2 separate regions of the Homo sapiens genome follow, and region 2 is linked to region 1. The links are contacts of gene promoters, found by promoter capture Hi-C in blood cells and fetal thymus (Javierre and others, 2016). All regions are on one chromosome and are shown on one strand. The core of a region is centred on a gene start or on the middle of the fragment in contact, and the rest is flanking DNA. Distances in the headings are between cores, read along the strand shown.

Region 1 (4,593 bases), core at 1,372-3,871:
ATTCTTCACTTTGTCACTCCCTAGCTGTGAGGCCTGGGGCAAGTCATGGTTCTGAGGCAGGAAAACAGCAGAGGGAATTAGAGGTTGGATAAAAAGCAGAATGAGTAGGAGCAGAAGCAGGATAAAGAGGAGGGTGAGCAAGAGGCAAGATAAGAAGCAGAAGCTGAGCCAAAACAAAAGTTATATGAAGTGAGTCAAGAGCCCCCATGGTTGGCTAGATTCAGACCAATCCAGTAAGGGGCAGCTCCTCAGAGATGGGCATGTATATTAAAGAGAAAAAGTATCCCTAAAATGACCCCATATGAGAATCAGCTCATTAAAGCTCATGCATAGGTACTGCATAGCATGCATGCACTTAAAATTATGAGATGAAGGTTACGTGCAAGTGCACAAGGGCCAAAGTAACTAAGCAACCTACCTATCAATCAAAAGCCAGATGCTGGTTAAAGATTAGGCAGCTCGGGGAAGAGAAAAAAAAAACACATAAAAAGGCCCAAAGTACACCAAACTGACGCCGATCTCATTTCACAGAGCTTAGCCCACTCTCCCCTCTCCGAGAGTGTTACTGTGCTTAATAAACTTTTGCTACTTTGCTATTTGTGTGTGTCACATCCAATTCTTTGTTCGTGGCACCAAGAACCTGGGACTTCACCACATCAGCTGGTAACAGTTCCTCTCTGAGCCTCTGTTTCCTCATTAGTAACATGAAGAGGTTGAACTGGAAATTTCAGGGTTTTCATGTGCCAACCCTAATTAACTGGAAGTGTCTGTTGAGAAGGAGCTCAAAGGCATGTCCAGGTGCAGGAGGGACAAGGCTGAGAGAGCAAGTTCATGGGCCACAAATTGCTATCATTCTATGATTTTAAAGCCCATCTAGCAAACTAGTAGTTGGTGGCCAAATGTGCTAATGGTCATATTTCATTAGTACCACCTAGTATTTTAAAATTGTTAGTTACCAAAATTTTTAAAGCTGGAAATTTCACGTAAAAGATACTGACATGGCATCGGTAGGCTGAATGGAAATCATAACTGCCCCTTTTCACTTGGAGCAGGCACCATCTTCCTTCATTGCCCCACTAGTTTGTCACCTGCCTGGCCCTGGGAGGCATTGTAACCCTGACCTAATCCCCCATCCTCTCTTTCTGTCTCTCCCACCTCACTGCCCCCACATAGACCCCACTTGCCTTCATCAGGGGCATTCTTGTCCCACACGGACCACATCTGGACACTGAAGAAGGGAGCCCAGCAAGCGATGTAGGCCAGCACGATGACAAAGGTCATCTTCACTGTTCGGATCTTGGCCCGTGAGATGGTGTTGATGCTGCTGACCCGAGATGGCAGCCCCCGAGTGGTGGCAGCTAAGGTGGAAGGTGAGGGCCTGTCCCAAGTCCTCCAGCCCCCTCCTCCCACCCGCCAGGCCTGTGTCTTGACTTTTAGGTTTTTACAGATCTCATGGCAGATGAGGCTGTAGCAGGCCGTGAGCATGGTCACCGGCAGAACGAAGATAGCCAGGGTGGTCCAGGTGAGGTAGGCCCGTGGCCCCCAAGGGAAGCCGAAGTCTGCCCAGCAGTCCAGCACCCCTGAGCCCTGGATCACCTCCCGCAGGGAAAAAATGAAGACTTGAGGGAGGCTGAAGATGGCGGCCAGCAGCCAGGGAGCAGCGATGAGCAGGTAGGTGGACTGGCCTGGCTGCTGGAGGCTGCGCAGGGGGTGACAGACAGCCAGGTAGCGGTCCAGCGTCATGGCCAGCAGCATGTAGGTGGAGGCAAACATGCTGAGCACCTGCAGGTACTTGACGGCCCTGCACAGGAGGTCGGGGCCCTGGAAGCGGTAGGTGATGTCCCACAGCAGCTGTGGCAGCACCTGGAAGAGCGCCACGGCCAGGTCTGTCAGGGCTAAGTGCAGCACGAACAGGTGCATGCGGGAGCGCTTGCGGCCCAGCTGGCCCAGGGTCAGCAGCACAGCCAGGTTGCCCCCGGTCGCCAGCACCAGGACAGTGGCCAGGACTCCGATCTCCACCTTGGCCAGCTCCTCATCCCGGCCCAGCCAGGGTGTTGTGGCATTGGGGGCAGAGAGGGTGCCCCGAGGGGTGGGGTTGGCATCCCACAGAGGCCCAGAATCCATGAGCAAGGTTTGCTGGGAGGGAAGGATGAAGGGAGGGTGTGGATGCAAGTGGAGAGGTTTGATGGATAAAATGGAGTGGCAGGGGAGGTGGAGAGAAAGGAGAAGCGTTGAGAATGACAGGGAGAAGGCTTGCAAATAGGCGGAAATCGTTCAGAGGACTGGGATAGAGAGGAGGAGGGAGGATGAGATTCGGAAGGAGAAAATGTGACTGGGATCGACCCAGGAGAGGGAGAAGGAGGGGTCAGGAAGATGGGGAATCAGGACGGGAAGAATGGGGGACGCTGTGCAGAGTGAGGCTTCTGGGAGGGAAAGAAGGCTGGGGAGGGGCTACCACCCTCCAATCCGCCTCAAATTCTCTTTCTCCAAACTTTTCTGGAAGCCAAGAGCGGAAGCCCTTCAGCCTGCTTGGAGGCGCGGTCCGGGGCAGTCGGTGTCGCGCTCAGGGCAGGAAGCCCCAGCCAAGCCCGCTCGCTCTGCCTGGTGAGCAGCGGCTGGAGCGCAGCGGCGCGGCTCGGGCGGGTTTTATGGGCTCCCAGGCCGAGCCCGGCGGCCTGCGGCTCGCCAGTTGGCTCCTGCAGAGGAGGGAGGAGTGAGGTTCGCAGGCACCCACCCGGCGGGATGACCGAGAGGCCGGCTGCTGGAGGGAGGGGGGGCAGAGGGGGTAGCGGACGAGGGACAGGGAGCGAGACAAGCAGGCGACGCAGGCCAGCGCCCAGCAGCCGGCAGGACACACCGACCCGCAGGCAGGCAGATAAGCTCCTCTGCGCACTCACCCTGGAACTCTCGGGCCGTCTCTCCACAGGTGCATCCCCGGGGGATGGTGAGAGGCAGTCACTCCTCCCACCTACGCGGGGGCACTTCGGCTGGCGGCTGTTGGCGCGCCCTCTGCCAGCCGGCTAGCCGGTGCAGGATCCACAATCTTCAAGGGTGGCCAGGTGAGCGAGGCGGCATCCCTGATTGCCAGTCACCTGGGAGTGACGTCTGACCGCAGACCCTGTTGAGGGACTGCGAGGCATAGGGAAAGGAAGAAAAAGTGAGGGTATATGTGGGGGTGGGGAGACGAAGGAGCTAGACCTGAGAGCCCTGGTGCTTGATCGGTGGGAACAGCCGGAGAAATTCCCGGTATTTGCGTCCCCAAGGGACATCTTAACTTCTGGCCTATGTGCTTTTCGTGCTTAGGTGCTTCCAAGATCCTAAACGCAGTTAACCACTCGGCGAGGTAGAAAACAGGCCCAGAGAAGTTCAAGAACTTGCTGTAGAAGATTACTGAACGAGTAAGCAGCAGAGGCCGGTCTAGAACCAGCCCCGTGTGCCCTTCTGACAGCGCAGCAGCAGCACTTAACACCTAACCGGCTTGGCTAAATTCTATGTGAGAGGCACTGGTGCTGACGGTAAAAATAAAAACAAAACACCATCCAGTCCAGAGGCAGCTTACAGCTCAATAGAGAAGGTATTGTGTGGTGTTGGCTGTGAAATTCACTTAATCTTCAGTATGCAAGATGGACTATTGGGACTCTCCCTAGAGCAGATTAGAAGTTAGGAGTGACAGACTGGGCGCGATGGCTCACGTCTGTAATCCCAGCACTTTGGGAGGCCGAGGCGGGCAGATCACGAGGTCAGGAGATCGAGACCATCCTGGCTAACACGGTGAAACCCCATCTCTACTAAAAATACAAAAAATTAGCCGGGCGTGGTGGCGGGCGCCTGTGGTCCCAGCTACTGGGGAGGCTGAGGCAGGAGAATGGCGTGAACCCGGGAGGCAGGGCTTGCAGTGAGCCGAGAACACACCACTGCACTCCAGCCTGGGCGACAGAGTGAAACTCTGTCTCAAAAACAAACAAACAAACAAACAAACAAACAAACAAACAAAATTTAGGAGTGACAATAGTAGGGTCCCAGACTCTCAGAAAGGGCAGAGTCTGTGACAGGAGAGAAGTCCTTTTGTCTTGCTTTTTTTTTTTTTTTTTTTTTTTTTGAGACAGAGTCTTGCTCTGTCGCCAGGCTGGAGTGCAGTGGCACAATCTCGGCTCACTGCAACCTCTGCCTCCCAGGCTCAAGCGATTCTCCCTCCTCAGCCTCCCAAGTAGCTGGGATCACGGGCACCCGAACCACGCCCAGCTAATTTTGTATTTTTAGTAGAGGGGGGTTTCGCCATGTTGGCCAGGCTGGTCTCGAACTCCTGACTTCAGGTGATCCACCTGCCTCGGCTTCCCAAAGTGCTAGGATTACAGGCATGAGCCACTGCATCTGGCCTTTGTCCTGCCTTTTAACCAGACTCCCCTTTATAATGTCACCAGACATCCAATTAGCATTACTTCTTGAAGGTTCTACCTCCTCAACAGCCTACAAATTCAGCGCCTTCATTCCATCCCATGACCACTTACCATTTAGCTGCCTAAAATATAGTAGCATCCTCCTTCTGTGCTTTGGAGCCCAAGCTTCCACCTTCCCAAGGATTTTGCTCTTTAT
Region 2 (4,593 bases), core at 916-3,415, 230 kb before region 1:
GATTGGGTAATAAAATGCATAGAGAATAAGATAGCCTTCTGGCCCCTCTGGGTCTAGGGCAGTAAAGCGTCTAAGGGTTGTTGCCAAATGGGCCATGAACTGGGCTGAGTTTTTATATTTGATGTTAAAAACTGATTTGGGAGAGGTCGGATAAAGAAAAAAAGGAGCATTAACCTTGACTATGCCTTTAGCTCCAGCCACCTCTTTAACAGGAAATTGTTGGGCAGGTGGGGGAGGGCTAGTTGCAGAACGAAACTGTAAGCCAGATTGGGTGTGAGGAGGGGAAGTGATAGAAAGATTATAGGGTGGGGGAGCAGAGGCTGAGGAAGAATTGGGTCCTAGCTTGGCCTGGCGAGGAGCAGCCTGGGGAGAAGGGGAGAGGTCAGATCAGTCTGTAGAAAAGAAGGATTCAAAGGACTCAGAGTTTGGGGTGGAGACTGAAGGAACAGACAGGAGCTAAAGAAGAAAGATTTGGGATGAGTTGCATTGGGCACAGAGACTAGGGAGGGACCAATGTGTATTAGAAGGCCTGGATGTCAGGCACCTCAGACCATTTGCCCATTTTTCAACAAAAATTATCTAGGTCTCGGAGGATGGAGAAATCAAAAGTGCCATTTTCTGGCCATTTAGAACCATTGTCGAGTTTGTATTGGGGCCAAGCAGTGTTGCAGAAGAAAATAAGACATTTAGATTTTAGTTCAGGTGATAGTTGAAGAAATTTTAAGTTCTTGAGAACACAGGCTAAGGGAGAAGAAGGAGGAATGGAGGGTGGAAGTTTGCCCATAGTGAAGGAGGCAAGTTTAAAGAGAAAGGTAGAGACATGGAGAAAGGGTTGGGGAGCAGCCCTGGGCTGCAATGTGGGTGAGCAGCCAAAGCAGGCATCCCCGCAATTGACTTGCCACCAAGGGAATGTGGTTGAATGACCAAGGCAGGCATCCCTGAAGATATCAGACGCCAATGGAATGTGGGTGAATAATCAGGCAGGCATCCCCGGAATGATTAAACACTAAGGGAAGGCTGCCTTCCTGAGTACATGACCAGCACCAGAGTTTTGGGTCCATGGATAAAATGTGTCTCCTTTGTCTCTACTAGAAAATGAAAGGAATTGAAATTAAGAGAAGAGAGGGAGTGAAGGGTGGCACCAAGAATGAAAGGAGAAAGAGGTTGAGGGATAGTGAGAAAGGTTGGAGAAGAGAGTAAAAAGAGGCCACTTACCCGATTTAAAATTTGTGAGATGTTCCTTGGGCTGGTTGGTCTGAGGACCAAAGGTCGTAGGTGGATCTCTTCATGGAGTGAGGGTGAGGACAGGGGACAGTCTCCTGAAGGAGTCCTGCTGACCTGGGTCTTTGGCACCAAATGTGTCATGCATCCATGTGAAGAGACCACCAAACAAGCTTTGTGTGAGCAACAAGGCTGTTTATTTCACCTGGGTGCAGACGAGTTGAGTCCAAAAAGAGAGTCAGCCCAGTCTATATCTTTTAAATGGGAAAATTCAATCTATTTACATGCAACGTTATTCTTGATAGGTGAGTACTTACATCTAGCATTCTATTATTTTCTGCTTGTTTTGTATATCCTTTGTTCCTTCCTCTCTTACTGTTTACTTTTGTGGTTGGGCAGTTTTCTGTAGGGATAAGATTTGAGTCTTATCTCTTTCTCCCTATGTGTTAGCTTTACCAGTGAGTTTTTATAGTTTCACATATTTTTATGATGCTGGTTATCATCTTCTCTGTGGGGAACAGGCCCCCCAAAACCTGGCCATAAACTGGCCCCAAAACTGGCCATAAACAAAATCTCTGCAGCACTGTGACATGTACATGATGGTCTTAACGCCCACGCTGGAAGGTTGTGGGTTTACCAGAATGAGGGCAAGGAACACCTGGCCCACCCAGGGTGGAAAACCGCTTAAAGGCATTCTTAAACCACAAACAATAGCATGAGTGATCTGTGCCTTAAGGCCATGCTCCTGCTGCAGATAGCTAGTCCAACCCATCCCTTTATTTCAGCCCATCTCTTCATTTCCCATAAGGAATAATTTTAGTTAATCTAATATCTATAGAAAGAATGCTAATGACTAGCTTGCTGTTAATAAATACATGGGTAAACCTCTGTTGGAGGCTCTCAGCTCTGAAGGCTGTGAGACCCTTGATTTCCTACTTCACTCCTCTATATTTCTGTGTCTTTAATTCCTCTAGTGCCACTGGGTTAGAGTCTCCCCGACCAAGCTGGTCTCAGCAAGTGGTCTCCATCATGGGGGCTCGAATCCAGGTTGAAGGGTCACCAGAGTGATGGTTGGAGAACATGGAACTAGCTGGAGGACACCTGAGTACTCTTAAAGCAAACCCCGTGGTGAGTAAGAAGGGGAGCTCAGAAGCATCAGGGTAACAATGGGACAAGTGTGGGGTCTGGTTCGTTCCATCTTGGAACTTTTTCACACTGATGATGAGGAAGAAGGAGAGTATAATGAAGTAACAGAAGAGGTTATAGAGCAGGTTTATTTGCCAGCTAAAGCTAAAGTGGCAAAGGAGGGAGAGGTTCATCCCTACCCTTCTGCACCCCCTCATTATTATTTTGAAGAAAAAGAGTGGCCTGACCCTCCAGATCTTTCTTTTCCAGAGGACAGTGGGCAAAAATTAGTTGCCCCAGTGACTGTTCAAGCAGCACCTCGAGCGACTGCTCTTAGTTCTATTCAGTCAGGAATTCAGCAAGCTAGATGAGAAGGTGATTAAGAGGCTTGGCAGTTCCCTGTTAGACTACACTGCCCAGACCAACAGGGAAATATTGTAGCTACATTTGAGCCTTTTTGTTTTAAATTACTCAAAGAATTTAAACAAGCTATTAATCAGTATGGACCAGGTTCTCCTTTTGTAATGGGACTATTAAAGAACATTGCTGTTTCCAGTCAGATGATTCCTACTGACTGGGACGCTCTTACTCAAGCTTGTCTAACTCCTGCTTAGTTCTTACAATTTAAAACTTGGTGGGCAGATGAAGCTTCCATTCAGGCTTCTCACAACACGCAGGACCAACCTCAAATTAATATAACTGCAGACCAACTTTTGGGGGTTGGCAGTTGGGCTGGTTTAGATGCACAAATGGTCATGCAGGATGATGCCATAGAACAGCTTAGAGGAGCGTGCATTAGAGCTTGGGGAAAAAAAATCACTTCAAGTGGAGAACAATACCCTTTCTTTAGTGCTATAAAACAGGGACCAGAAGAATCATATGTGGATTTTATAGCTCAGTTACAGGAGTCTCTTAAAAAGATGACTGCAGATTTGGCTGCTCAGGATATAGTGTTGCAATTATTAGCTTTCAACAATGCTAATCCTGATTGCCAGGCTGCTCTGTGACCTATCAGAGGGAAAGCACATTTAGTTGATTATATCAAGGCCTGTGGTGGTATCAGAGGTAATCTGCATCAGGCCACCTGCTAGCACGGGCAATGGCAGGACTGAGAGTGGATACAGAAAGTACTCCATTTCCTGGAGCTTGTTTTAACTGTGGGAAGCATGGTCATACTGAAAAAAAAAAAAGTAGAAAAAAATCAGCAAGTCGGGCCACCAGATAGGGGAAAAAAGAAAACTGCTGAGCCTGAAATATGTCCAAAATGTAAAAAAGGAAAACACTGGGCTAATCACTCTAAGTTTGATAAAGATGGGAACCTGATTTCAGGAAAAGCCATGAGGGGCCCATCCTGGGCCCCATTCCAAACTGGGGCATTTCCAGCTCGGGTCATTCCCTCACCCCTGTACAATGCCTGTCCCCCACCACAGCTGGTAGAGCCACACTAGATTTATGCTGCAGTAGATTTATGCTGAGTCTTCTGCCTGGGGAACCCCTGCAAAAGGTCCCAACAGGAGTCTGTGGTCCCTTGCCAGCAGGGACAATAGGATTAGTTCTAGGCAGTTCTAGTTTAAATTTAAAAGGGGTACAAATACATACAAGAGTCATTGATTCAGATTACAATGGGGAAATTCAAATTGTTATATCTACTTCTGTTCCCTGGAAAGCAGAGCCAGGAGAGTGCATAGCACAGCTCCTGATTGTGTCATATGTGGGAATGGGAAAAAGTGAAATTAAATGAACAGGAGGATTTGGAAGCACAAATAAACAAGGCAAAGCAGCTTATTGGGTAAATCAAATTACTGATACACATCCTACCTGTGAAATAACTATTCAGGGAAATAAATTTAAAGGTTTGGTAGATACAGGAGTGGACATTTTCTCTACAGCACTGGCCGTCTGCATGGCCAATTCAACCCACTCAATTCAACTCCAATAGTTGGAGTTGGTAAAGTCCCTGAAGTATATCAAAGTAGCTATATTTTGCATTGTGAAGGGCCTGATGGACAACCTGGGACTATTCAACCAATTATAACTTCTGTACCCATAAATTTCTGAGGAAGGGATTTATTACAACAATGGGGAGTACAAGTTCTAATTCCAGAACAATTATATAGCCCTCAAAGTCAACATATGATGCATATAATGGGGTATGTTCCTGGTATTGGACTAGGAAAAAATTTGCGAGTTTTGAAAGAACCACTGCAAGTGGAAAGACAAAATTCCTGCCAAGGCTTAGGATATCAT

What was found. The method cuts DNA at HindIII sites, captures the fragments that hold promoters and counts their contacts. A CHiCAGO score of 5 or more calls a contact.
Region 2: a contact is called between a fragment that was not itself captured here and the fragment with the promoter of AVPR1B in region 1, in 1 of 17 cell types (endothelial precursors). The highest score is 5.3, in endothelial precursors.

What each region holds. Positions count from the first base shown.
Region 1 is chr1:206,114,767-206,119,359 of GRCh38, forward strand. AVPR1B (arginine vasopressin receptor 1B) reads right to left here and starts at 2,622. Exons shown (of 2, transcript NM_000707.5): 1 at 1,185-2,622. The coding sequence starts at 2,124. It overlaps AVPR1B-DT (AVPR1B divergent transcript), which reads left to right and starts at 3,017. Exons shown (of 3, transcript NR_186693.1): 1 at 3,017-3,059; 2 at 3,304-3,574. RefSeq lists a silencer at 3,442-3,736. The HindIII fragment of the contact is 5,056 bases long and covers 1-4,564 here.
Region 2 is chr1:205,888,961-205,893,553 of GRCh38, forward strand. It overlaps PM20D1-AS1 (PM20D1 antisense RNA 1), which reads left to right. Exons shown (of 3, transcript NR_046097.1): 2 at 2,196-2,349. Among named protein-coding and RNA genes, the nearest start is that of PM20D1-AS1, 29 kb to the left of the region's middle. The HindIII fragment of the contact is 1,546 bases long and covers 1,393-2,938 here.